Regions from separate parts of the Homo sapiens genome. Here region 1 is linked to region 2. Evidence: promoter capture Hi-C in 16 types of primary human blood cells and fetal thymus (Javierre and others, 2016). All regions are on one chromosome and are shown on one strand. Each heading gives the region's core, a stretch centred on a gene start or on the middle of the fragment in contact. The rest is flanking DNA. Distances are from core to core; before and after follow the strand shown.

Region 1 (5,697 bases), core at 1,513-4,012, 320 kb after region 2:
ACTTGCTTCTATATGAGAATGGGCAGGTGCAAGGCTGTTTGGGAACTTTTATCCTGTATATACCACACTGTCCATGGAACACTATAAAATACCAATATACTCTGAAAGAAGCAGGAAGCCGTCTACCATAATGGTAAAGTGTAGGCCTTGGAGTCAAGACTGCTTAAGTTTGCAACCTGGCTCTATTGTTCATTAGTTGTGTACCTTGAACAAGTTATTTTAACCTCACTGAGCCCTCAAGTACTTAATTTATTGTCATTTATAGGGTTTATTATTTTACCTGTCACCAGTGTAATTTACATATACATCACTAATAGATTTACTCAGTAATAATACATTAACTAATGAATTGTTATATTAAATGAAATCACATAAGAACTCAGTAAATGTTATTTTCTTACTAAACTATTAGTGTTATGTTTGTAAAATTAACTACATTAATGACTGGAAATATAAGATTATTAAGTAATAACAACATACTTGTAAGCAACTTGGGCTTTGAATCCACCGTATTTCTTTTCTTTCTCCCACTTACCTTCACGTGACTTCTGCTTATATAAAACAAAATTAAGCTTATGCTTAGCCACTCTGAAACCAGGCACGTTTCCTTTTCCTACACTATAAATGTTCTGACAATTTCCCCAAAATAATCAATTTACTTCTCTGAGACTCAATTTATAAATTTTTAATAAATTTATAAATTCAACTGTTACACATCTATATTTTATAAATTCATATTTTTTATAAATTTACAAATTCATATTTTGCAGAGCTGACATCAAGATTATAGGTAATACATGTATGATAGCTAGTAAGGATCCTCAGTAAACAATAAGGATCCAGCAATCCAACCAAAGTGATACCTATTCTAAACTGTTAGAGCATATAAAACTCATATTATTATACTTCCCAGAACCAGTTATATGTGTTCAATTCCTATCTTACTTACTAAATGTTTTTTTTTTTTTTTTGAGACGCAGTCTTGCTCTGTCGCCCAGGCTAGAGTGCAGTGGTACGATCTCGGCTCACTGCCAGCTCTGTCTCCCAGGTTCACACCATCCTCCTGCCTCAGCCTCCCGAGTAGCTGGGACTACAGGCGCCCGCCACCACGCCTGGCTAATTTTTTGTATTTTTAGTAGAGACGGGGTTTCACCGTCAGCCAGGATGGTCTCAATCTCCTGACCTCGTGATCCGCCCGCCTCGGCCTCCCAAAGTACTGGGATTACAGGCGTGAGCCACCGCGCCCGGCCCATTTACTAAATGTTAAGTTCCTTATAATTCCATCTCTTTCAGCACCCAATACAGGGGTTTACATAGAGGAAGTACTCAATATTTCCTTTCTTTTTTTCTTTTTTTTTCTGGAGATAGTCTCGCTCTGTCACCAGGCTGGAGTGTAGTGGCGTAATCTCAGCTCACTGCAACTGCTGCCTCCTGGGTTCAAGCAATTCTCCTGCCTCAGCCTCCCGAGTAGCTGAGACTACAGGCACATGCCACCACGCTCAGCTAATTTTTGTATTTTTAGTAGAGACAAGGTTTCACCATGTTGGCCAGGCTGGTCTCAAACTCCTGACCTCAGGTGATCTCCCCACCTTGGCCTCCCAAAGTGCTGGGATTACAGGCGTGAGCCACAGCGCCCGGCCAGCACTCAGTATTTCTAAGTTCATTTTCTCATTCTGTATCTTTAGGCATAACATATTATAAGAGAATTTTAATCTTTCAAGTAATACTGCCTCCTAGACACAAAGATCATCATTTTAAAAGACTGTATCGGCCGGGCGCGGTGGCTCACGCCTGTAATCCCAGCACTTTGGGAGGCCAAGGCGGGCGGATCACGAGGTCAGGAGATCGAGACCATCCTGGCTAACACGGTGAAACCCCTTCTCTACTAAAAATACAAAAAATCAGCCGGGCGTGGTGGCGGGCGCCTGTAGTCCCAGCTACTCAGGAGGCTGAGGCGAGAGAATGGCGTGAACCCGGGAGGCGGAGCTTGCAGTGAGCCGAGATGGCGCCACTGCACTCCAGCCTGGGCAACAAACAGAGCAAGATTCCGTCTCAAAAAAAAAAAAAGACTGTATCATGCTACACTCTAAAACTATGATGACAGTAAAGGAACACAAAAACAGCTCAGGATCCATTCTAGGTTTTTTAAAACAAAAAATGTTAAGTTATAATCCCAAACATTAAAAGATCCTTTTTTCCTTTCACAGTGCAACTTTTACTAAAGGGTAATAAAGAATCACTCTCTCTCTCTGCTAATGGATTCCAGAGAACTAGAAAGTGCAAGTAAGTGAAATTAATTATAAGAGAAAGAAGTGAAGAAAGAGAGATGAGGGAGAGATCAAGGCCTCAATCAAACACTAGTAAAATTTAAACCCAGCAAACCAAACATTTTCATTTCCTTCATCAAAGAGCCTCTATTTCAATATTTCTCTAAAAACAAGAGAATAAGAATGAAGCATTTTTAAAAACTATCTTTATCTTAGCCAGAAAAGCTTTAATATTTCAAAGCACAGATGGAATTGTTGCCTTTTCTCAAAAGGAATAACTAGGTTCTACTACTTTCTCCCTAAGATGTACATTCCTCCAGTGTTCTATAATTAATATCTGTGGGGGCAGTGGAATTTGAAATCACTACGAAACACAACTACTTTTTGTTTCCTTGACAAATAGATGAGAAAGTCAGTCAAGCTGGTTTGTAAATTGTTCTGTTCTTGGGTAATTTTTATTAGGGTCTCTGAGTTCCTTCAACAAATTAAACCTCATGTATCCTTAATTCTCAATTGAAATTTTAAAACAACTGACCAAAATCTCCCCTTTTGACTTTTAAAAGTACTGCTGTAAAACAATAAACACCTGGAAAAAGTGGGAGGAAAAAAGAGAACATAACTGACAAAAGCCTAGGAGGAAGAAAGAATTTTGATGCAACTATTATTTATTAGTTTAAGAAAGGCAGGAAGCCAAATCATTAAGAGTAAAATCATTCAACCCAAGGAAGCTGATAACAACAAAAAAGAATAAAATCAGTAAGCTTCTACTCCCTAAAAAATTACGCACATACATACACTCGTCCCTCCTCTACAGACAAAACTAACATTAAAGTAATTCTGGGTGGCCTCTGTGAGCAAATTTTAATATTAGTGTTTTTCCACTGCTATTGTAATTTTCCTTTCAAGATACCTCCATGTCACAGAACCATGTGAAGTTTGTCAGTAGTGTTTCACACTTTTAGTTATGGGAATGTTTATTTGCTACAAAATTTACTCTTTAGCTTACTATGGAATTTGGTATAGTAAAATTATGTTTTACATATTGCTTCAAACCCACCTAAGGCCATGGATGAAATCACCCTTCTGCTGTAAGAGACTAAGCAGCTAAAAGGAAGAAGATAACAACTGCTTGGAAAGTCTCACAATACAGACAAAAAGGCTTAATATATACCATTACAATAATTATAGTTTATAATTAAGACAGTTCCATGTTTCGAAACATTGCCAGAAACCTGGAAAAATACCACCTATAACTCTATGAACCTAGAGCAATGGAATGAAAAAAAAAAAAGGTGACTTAGGCATCTAAAGGGGAGGGAGAGGGTGGATAATAACCAATTATAACAGAGCTCCTGCTCAATGAATACAGAAATGCCATTAAGCGTAAACCAAGAGTAAAAATACGCAAGAGACCAAAATAGATTTATTACTTCTTTGGGGGGCTGAGACAAAGTTTACCTTGAACCTCAAAAAGAACCTAAGCCAATAACACACTAGACTAAGTAGAAAGAGTCATCTAAAATACTAGAATGCCCCAACAGCCTTCTGAGAATAGAGAATAAACAAACTTAAAAGTGCTTTTCCTACATTCTCATTCAACAATCAACAAAGACTTCTTTGACCAAATGTATGAGAGTTCTCCCCACACACACCAAGCAAGCAATTCTGCAATGAACACCAGCTAGGTGCCCTCCAATTCAATTCTGACACTGGAAGAGAGCATCAGATCCCACAGACTGAGTGCTCAGTCTCACAAGACTGCCCCCCACTTCCCATGCCAATCACAAATCTCAGGTTAACATTTGCTCTGACCCAACCACCATAAATCGGGGCTCACACAACCCCCTTCTTGGGTTCCATTAATTTGCTTGAGCAGCTCACAGAACTCAGGGAAACACGTTTACTGGTTAATTATAAAGGACATAACAAAGGACACCAATGAACACCAGATGAAGAGATGGAGGGGGCAAGGTAGGGCTAAGAGTGCAGAGCTTCTAGGTTCTTTCTGGGCATGCCAACCTCCAGGAACCTCCATATGTTTTGCTGTCTAGAAGCTTCCCAAAACCAGTCCTTTTGGATTTTTATGGAAGTTTCGTTATGAAGGCATAATTAATTAAACCACTGGCCACTGGTGTTCAGTTTACCCCTTCAGCTCTTCTCCCTTCCCCAGAGGTTAGATGGTAGGGCGGAAAGTCACAACCTCTAGTCCTGCCTTATTCTTTCCAGTGACCAGCCCCCATCCTTAGGCTACCCAGGGGATGCCAACCATCAGTCAACTCATTAGCATACAAAATGACACTTATCACCTTGAAGACCCAAGGATTTTTGAAGTAGTATGCCAGGAAATGGGACAGAGACCAAATAGAGATTTCATAATACCATAGCCTTCTCTCTGGACCTCTTCTATATCTGTACTTGCTGCTCTATCTTACTAGACTTACTTCCCTATCTACACTCTCTCTCTAGTTGATCTCTTCCAGCTTCCTGGCTCTAAAAACAATCCATATACTAGACACGCTATGGTGATTGCTGAACAACTCTATGAATATACTAAAACAATTGAATTGTACACTTTAAATGAGTATATTTTTTGTGAATTATATCTTTAAAAAAGATTTCTTAAAATAGACATCCCAAACCTAACACATCCAAAACTAAATTTCTCATCTTCTTCCCAAAATCTGCTCCACTCACAGCCTTCCCCATATCAATAAATGTCAACTCTTATCTTTCTAGTTGCTCAAGCTAAAAAAAAAAAAAAAAAAAAAGTCATTCTTGATTATTCTCCTCCTCTCTCACCCCACATTTAATCCACCTAGAAATCTGGCTGGACCTACTTTCAAAATAGATCTAGAATTAAATTACTTATCACTTCCGCTGGCCATAACCTGGTCCAAGCCATCAATATTTTACACTGGATTACAATAGCCATCTAATTGGTATCCCTGTTCCAGCAGAAACAAGAATAACCTTTTAAAAACAAACGAGTGCCAGGCGTGGTGGCTCACGCCTGTAATCCCAGCACTTTGGGAGGCTGAGGCGGGCGGATCACTTGAGGTCAGGAGTTCGAGACCAGCGTGACCAATATGATGAAACCCTGTCTCTACTAAAAATACAAAAATTAGCTGGGCATGGTGGCATGCACCTGTAATCCCAGCTACTCAGGAGGCTGAGACAGGAGAATCGCTTGAACCCGGGAGGCAGAGGTTGCAGTGAGCCGAGATGGTGCCATTGCACTCCAGCCTGAGCAACAGAGCAAAATTCCGTCTCAAAAAAAAAAGAAAAAAAAAGAGTTCATCTCCTTTTGCTTAAATGGCTCACCATCTCACTCTGAATAAAAACCAAAGTCCTTACAATGCCTATAAAACCCTTGGTGAATCCCATTTCACCCCTCCCCAACACCACCCACCATAATCTCTTTGAACTCATC
Region 2 (5,688 bases), core at 2,920-5,419:
ATGTCAAGATTTACTACTTCTAGAAGCAAAATGTTCATCCTAGCCAGTTTATATGTAGGATGAATAACCTTTACTAGGATATAGGGATAGAGACCAGCATTTTAAAAATTATTAAGCAAGATCTCCTTGTAATGTAACATTAAGATGATTTAGGGACATAAATTTATTTCTGAAATTGCACATGTTTTTGGATATGAACTCTGAGCAAGTGTACTCCTGATTTTGAGAATTATTACTGAATTGTGGTTAGAAAAGGGCAAGAAATGAAAATATTCATTATTATATATACTAAGGAAGTTATCATTGGAAAGCTCATTTCAAGCATCAGAAAAGAAGTATATCCTTTTAGAGAATAGTTGTATGACACCTAATCATTAGTCATTTTCCAATATTCATTTTAATAACTATATATACAGCATTATTCACAATAGCCGAAAGATGGGAAAAACCTAAATATACATCAACAGATGAATGGATTAAAAAATGTGGTATATTCATACAATTGAATATCAGCCATAAAAAAAATGAAGTGCCAATACATGCTACAACTTAGATGAACCTTGAAAACATGCTAATTAAAGGAAGTTACTCACAAAAGTCCACATATTGTATTATTCCTTTCATTTGAAAGTCAGAACTGGGAAAGTTATTGAGACAGTCTTAAGGCTGGTGGGAGGATGGCAGAATAAGAGAGTGATAGCTAAGGTATATGGGGTTTGTTTGTGGGGTGATGAAAGTGATGTAAAATTGATTGTAGTGATGGTTGTACAACTCTGTGAAGGTACTGAAAATCATTGAATTGTACACTTATAAATGGGTGAATCATATAGTATCTAAATTATATCTCAATAAAGCTGTTTTTTAAAAAAATTGTATATCCAGCTGGGCACTGTAGCTCATTCCTGTAATCCCAGCACTTTGGCAGGCTGAGGCAGGAGGATCCCTTGAGGCCAGAAGTTTCAGGCTGCAGTGAGCCATGATGGTGCCACTGCATTCCAGCCTGGGTGACAGAGGGAGACCCTGTCCCTAAAAAGTAAATAAATAAATAAATATTGCATATCGTTGCATAAGATTGAAAAATCAAGTGTTGGCTGTTCTTTGAGAAATAACCAATTAGTAATTATTCTATCTTTGTGGAGGCAAATGGAAATCAACCAGTAAAATCTTCCAAAGAAAATCGGAAGAGAAGTCAACATGAATCTGGGAGAATAGTAAGTCTTATGATAATGTATAGTTTGAATACAATGGGAAGGATCAGAATATCATTACTACAGATTAAATTTAAAATGATGAATTTGATATCTTTCGATGTACCTGAGAGTTCTGATATTCAAATTTTGTTTAAATATATTTTGTTCTAAAAATCGAGGTGATTTTGAAATAAGATGCCCTATGTTGGTTTATTAGTTTTTTCCATGTAAACATCTCCTGTCTCATTCCATGAATGATTTAAAGTAATTGGAGGAATTTATAATATATAAATTAAAAATCAGCTGGGTGCAGTGGCTCATGCCTGTAATCCCAGCACTTTGGGAGACTGAGGCAGGTGGATCACGAGGTCAAGAGATCGAGACCCTCCTGGCCAACATGGTGAAACCCTGTCTCTACCAAAAATACAAAAAAAAAAAAAAATAGCTGGGCGTGGTGGCGCACGCCTGTAGTCCCAGCTACTCGGGAGGGTGAGGCAGGAGAATCGCTTGAACCTGGGAGGTGGAGGTTGCAGTGAGCCAAGATCGCGCCACTGTACTACAGCCTGGCGACAGACCAAGACTCCGTCTTTAAAAAAAAAAAAAATCAGTGCCAGGAAAAATATAAGAGAATATAGAATGAGAAAGTGACAGTACAAGAATACTAAGGCCATTTTGTTTATATAGAACTGAAATTGGGCCACAAATTTGATCTGAGCTTTCTAGAGATCAAAACTGAAGTAGAAGGAGGATAATTTACTAAATACATGTGTTCCCTAAAAATATAGGGTCTCCTCCTAGTACCTCTGGAGAAAAAAATATTTTCCTGACTTAAACCCTATAGTTGTTTCATATTTAGAACCTTATTTTACCAAATCAGATAATGTATTTGCCATTTCTGAGATAATTATTCATATTTTTCCAACTAGATATTTTAGTATTATTAGTAGGTTAGAATTAAACAACTGAAAACCTAAGACTATTTTTAAAACTCAAATGTTAACGTCTCAAGAGTACAAAAGCAAGACATGATTTAAATCGTACATGATTCCAAGGTAGAATGTTTTTCTATTTGTAGTTCATTTTAAAATCTTTTTTCCCTTCTTATTGCTCTGAAATATTTGGCTATTTTGAGGACATAATGTTAAATCTATCTTCTCACTTCTAGAGCAGCCCTACTGAAGATTATACATTTTGCAAGTACATACTTTCAGCAGCCATTGGAAGATGTTAATAATAAATTTTACTCTACTTTTAAGAAACCCAGATATAGTTATGCTAGGTATGCTAGGCATAAATTTTTTTAAAAAGAAGAGAAATCTCAGATACATGAAAAAATCTACAATTAAAGACATTTAAACAGGAAAGTATCTATTCTTAGTAGTTGTTTTCTTTTGACAGGTCCTCCATCACTTTGATTCTTCTAGTCAAGAGTCAGTGCCAAAAAGGAGAAAGTTTAGTGAACCAAAGGAACATATATAAAAATTATTTTTGTTCTGCAGGCTTGCAGAGTTCTTCTCACCATTTAAACTGAAGGACCCTATATTATATTTCCCTAACTCTGAAGATGTATATGTAGTTTAAAGCAGTTTGTACACTAAAACTAAGTTTTTGGCTGACTGTCATATTGTGGTCCTTAATCTTGAGATAAATCCAATAGAACTTTTGAATAAAAGCAAAAGTACAAATGTCATAATTGATTCGGTAATAAGTAAAATTTCAAAATTGATTTTGTTCATTACCTACTTAATATTTCCTTTAAATATATACTAACTGTTAAGGCCCTCTAATGCCATTTTTCTAAACAGTAATGTTTACTTTGGTATTAAAATTTGGTATGGATTCACTTTTTACTTATGTTAAAATTATACCATTTAACTGGCTCTTTTGTCATTGTGCTGTTATTAAAACAATGTTCTTCAATATTTTGACATAATGTATTAACATTTTAATATATAATGTACAATTTAAGAATTGGTGCTTTACCTTTACTATGCTTTTTTTTACAGGACAAAAAGACTGATTTTTAAAGTATGGCATTTTTTGCAGCATAAATAAAATATTGTTCAGTACGTAGGCCCTTTTATCGCTTCTAATTTTTATTTAAGTAGCAGGAAATATGGCTTCATTCATTTGAAAGGCTGGTAGGAGGATGGGGGGATAGGGAATACTAATTTTTAGATGATTTCGGTAGCTATTACTTTGCAAGAAGAGTTGAGCACACTTTCTAGAATTTTTGAGTGGTAGTATGAAAAATGCTGTGCTTTTAATGAGAAACCTGGGAGCTAGTTCCAGCCTTGCCTGCTTTCTTTGCTTTAGAAAAAGGAAGACTTAAAACTTGGTCTGTTTGCCGCTTGTAGTTTCAGCAGCCATATTCCAAAAACATACACATCCATGGGTTTGTCAGTAATAAGCGCTATAGGGAATGCTGGTACATATGCGATGGTAGAAATGTATTCATCCTGTTTAAGGTAAACCATATAAACGTACACAAACTGACCCAGATCATGTTTTTCTGGAACAGTCAAGTCAAGGATAAACTGACTGTCAGAAACAACCAATGTAAAAATATTTATTTATTTTTAGCTGTATTGCTTGGATCCCAACACATCTCACTTAATTGTCCCAGTATACGCTACTACAGCAACACACCTGCTACGCTGAAATTAACCCACAGAAACCTTTCGAGATTGGCAGCCCATGTTAGCTCACTCAGCGCTTTGATTGGCTGGTTTAATGGGGGTGGGGAGCGCAGCCCTCTTTCCTCTCTTCCACCAAGGTTCCTTCATTGGATTGACCAGCTGTCAGGTTGAACGCAAACCTGCCTCCTTTTGGTGGTGTTTGTCTGGATCGCAACAGAATAGCTGGGGGAGAGCCTCCCCCTGTGAGCTCCGATTGGCGGGACTCAACCTTGGTGATTTCTGATTGGCGCAATGAAGAAACACCAAGGTAGGTTGCCTAGTGATCCTGAGGAAGCTGATGTGTTATTCCTTCTCTGCATCGAAGGATCAGGAAGTTTGTGCTCTCTGCGTGGCTAAGTTTTTCACCTACTAGGACGGGGGTGGGGTGGGGAGAACAGGTGTCCTTCTAAAATACAGCACAAGCTACAGCCTGCGTCCAGCCATAACCCAGGAGTAACATCAGGTAAGCAACGAGAAAATTACATTTCCTAACGTCCCTTCCCCCCACCAAAAAAAACCTCTATTTTTTAAAATTATTATTTTATGGGAGGGAAAGGTTTGTATTCATTTGGGCCATTTGTTTTCTTTCAAGTAGGATTTTTAACTAGTAAATGTGCAGATGAAACTAATTTCTCAAAGAAACCGCCCCCTCTCCCCCTCCCCCCCTGCCCCGCGAAGGTTTAAAGTTTCTTGGATTGGTTTAGGAAATAGTCCCTATTCACAGTGCCAGATAGGCTTAGTGCGCTTAAGAATTTATTTCATGGTTCTCTTCCTCCTTCACTTTTCTTCCCACCTCCCATAACAAATTATATTTGAAATATACCCTTGTACAAAAAAACTTTTGTAGCTCACTTCATTTGTATTTCTATTTTAAATGTTCACATGCACTTCTGAGTATTCATTTTAATCAATATAAATTTATCGAGCAATAACAATGTTAAAGACAGTGCTAGTTGCTATGGAGAATATATAAACCCAAGAAGACAATATCCCTGTTCTTAAGAAGTTTACAGTTGAGAGACAGCTATACCAAGAGAAAGACTATAATAAATACTTTAAAGGAAGTGAGTATAAATAAAGCTCTGTGAAACAGCTGAGGGAGTGGCCATGAGACACATAGGTAATAGAAAAGAGGAGGTCACTTAAAGGCCTTCACAAGGCCTTTAAAGAATGGGTAGAATGTAAAGAGGAAGAGAAAAGGGTGAAGACCCCAGCAAGTACAGAGGAGCAGAAGCAGAAAGAAAGCATGAGACATTTTTGAGAAAAAGTCTGGCAACACTACTTATTAGGAGCAATGGGAAATATTGCTAGAGGAGTAGAAACGAGTCCAGTCATAGCAACTCTTAAATACCATTATTTTGATCTTGAAAAAGATACTCCTTTATATAATTGCTGATTTAAAATATTTGTTATATATTATCTTAAAAACTGATATCTAGATTTATATAAAATAAAGTATGCTAACTATAAACTTTATCACAAATGATTTAGTGCAGTTTCTTTTGACCGTAGTACATAGAATAAAAGACATGTTCTTTGACTTTTTTTTTTAAATTGAGAAAATTTGTTAATCTTTCAACACTCTCTTGCCAGTAATTTTTGTTTGCAGCTCCTTGTGTATTTGCAAGATATGGCTAGCTAGGACTAGAGCTGCTAAGTTTACTGACTGTGGAATTACTACACATGATTTTCTGAATGTTATCGTCTAGACTTGTGATCTCCAAAGTGAGTACATGAAATGAGTCATTAGGGTATGGGAAGGAAATATAGAACATGTATTTCTATTTAGTTTTTCGTATTCTTTTTTACTTTCTATTTTT

The links. The method cuts DNA at HindIII sites, captures the fragments that hold promoters and counts their contacts. A CHiCAGO score of 5 or more calls a contact.
Region 1: a fragment that was not itself captured here is called in contact with the fragment with the promoter of GOLPH3L in region 2 in 1 of 17 cell types (total CD8 T cells); the score reaches 5.1 in total CD8 T cells.

The regions. Positions count from the first base shown.
Region 1 is chr1:150,372,872-150,378,568 of GRCh38, reverse strand. The region is part of intron 1 of RPRD2 (regulation of nuclear pre-mRNA domain containing 2); the gene reads right to left. Among named protein-coding and RNA genes, the nearest start is that of RPRD2, 12 kb to the right of the region's middle. The HindIII fragment of the contact is 536 bases long and covers 2,495-3,030 here.
Region 2 is chr1:150,695,635-150,701,322 of GRCh38, reverse strand. GOLPH3L (golgi phosphoprotein 3 like) reads left to right here and starts at 4,169. Exons shown (of 5, transcript NM_018178.6): 1 at 4,169-4,331. It overlaps HORMAD1 (HORMA domain containing 1), which reads left to right. Exons shown (of 15, transcript NM_032132.5): 14 at 1,140-1,211; 15 at 2,589-3,263. The coding sequence ends at 2,669. The HindIII fragment of the contact is 16,001 bases long and covers 1-5,688 here.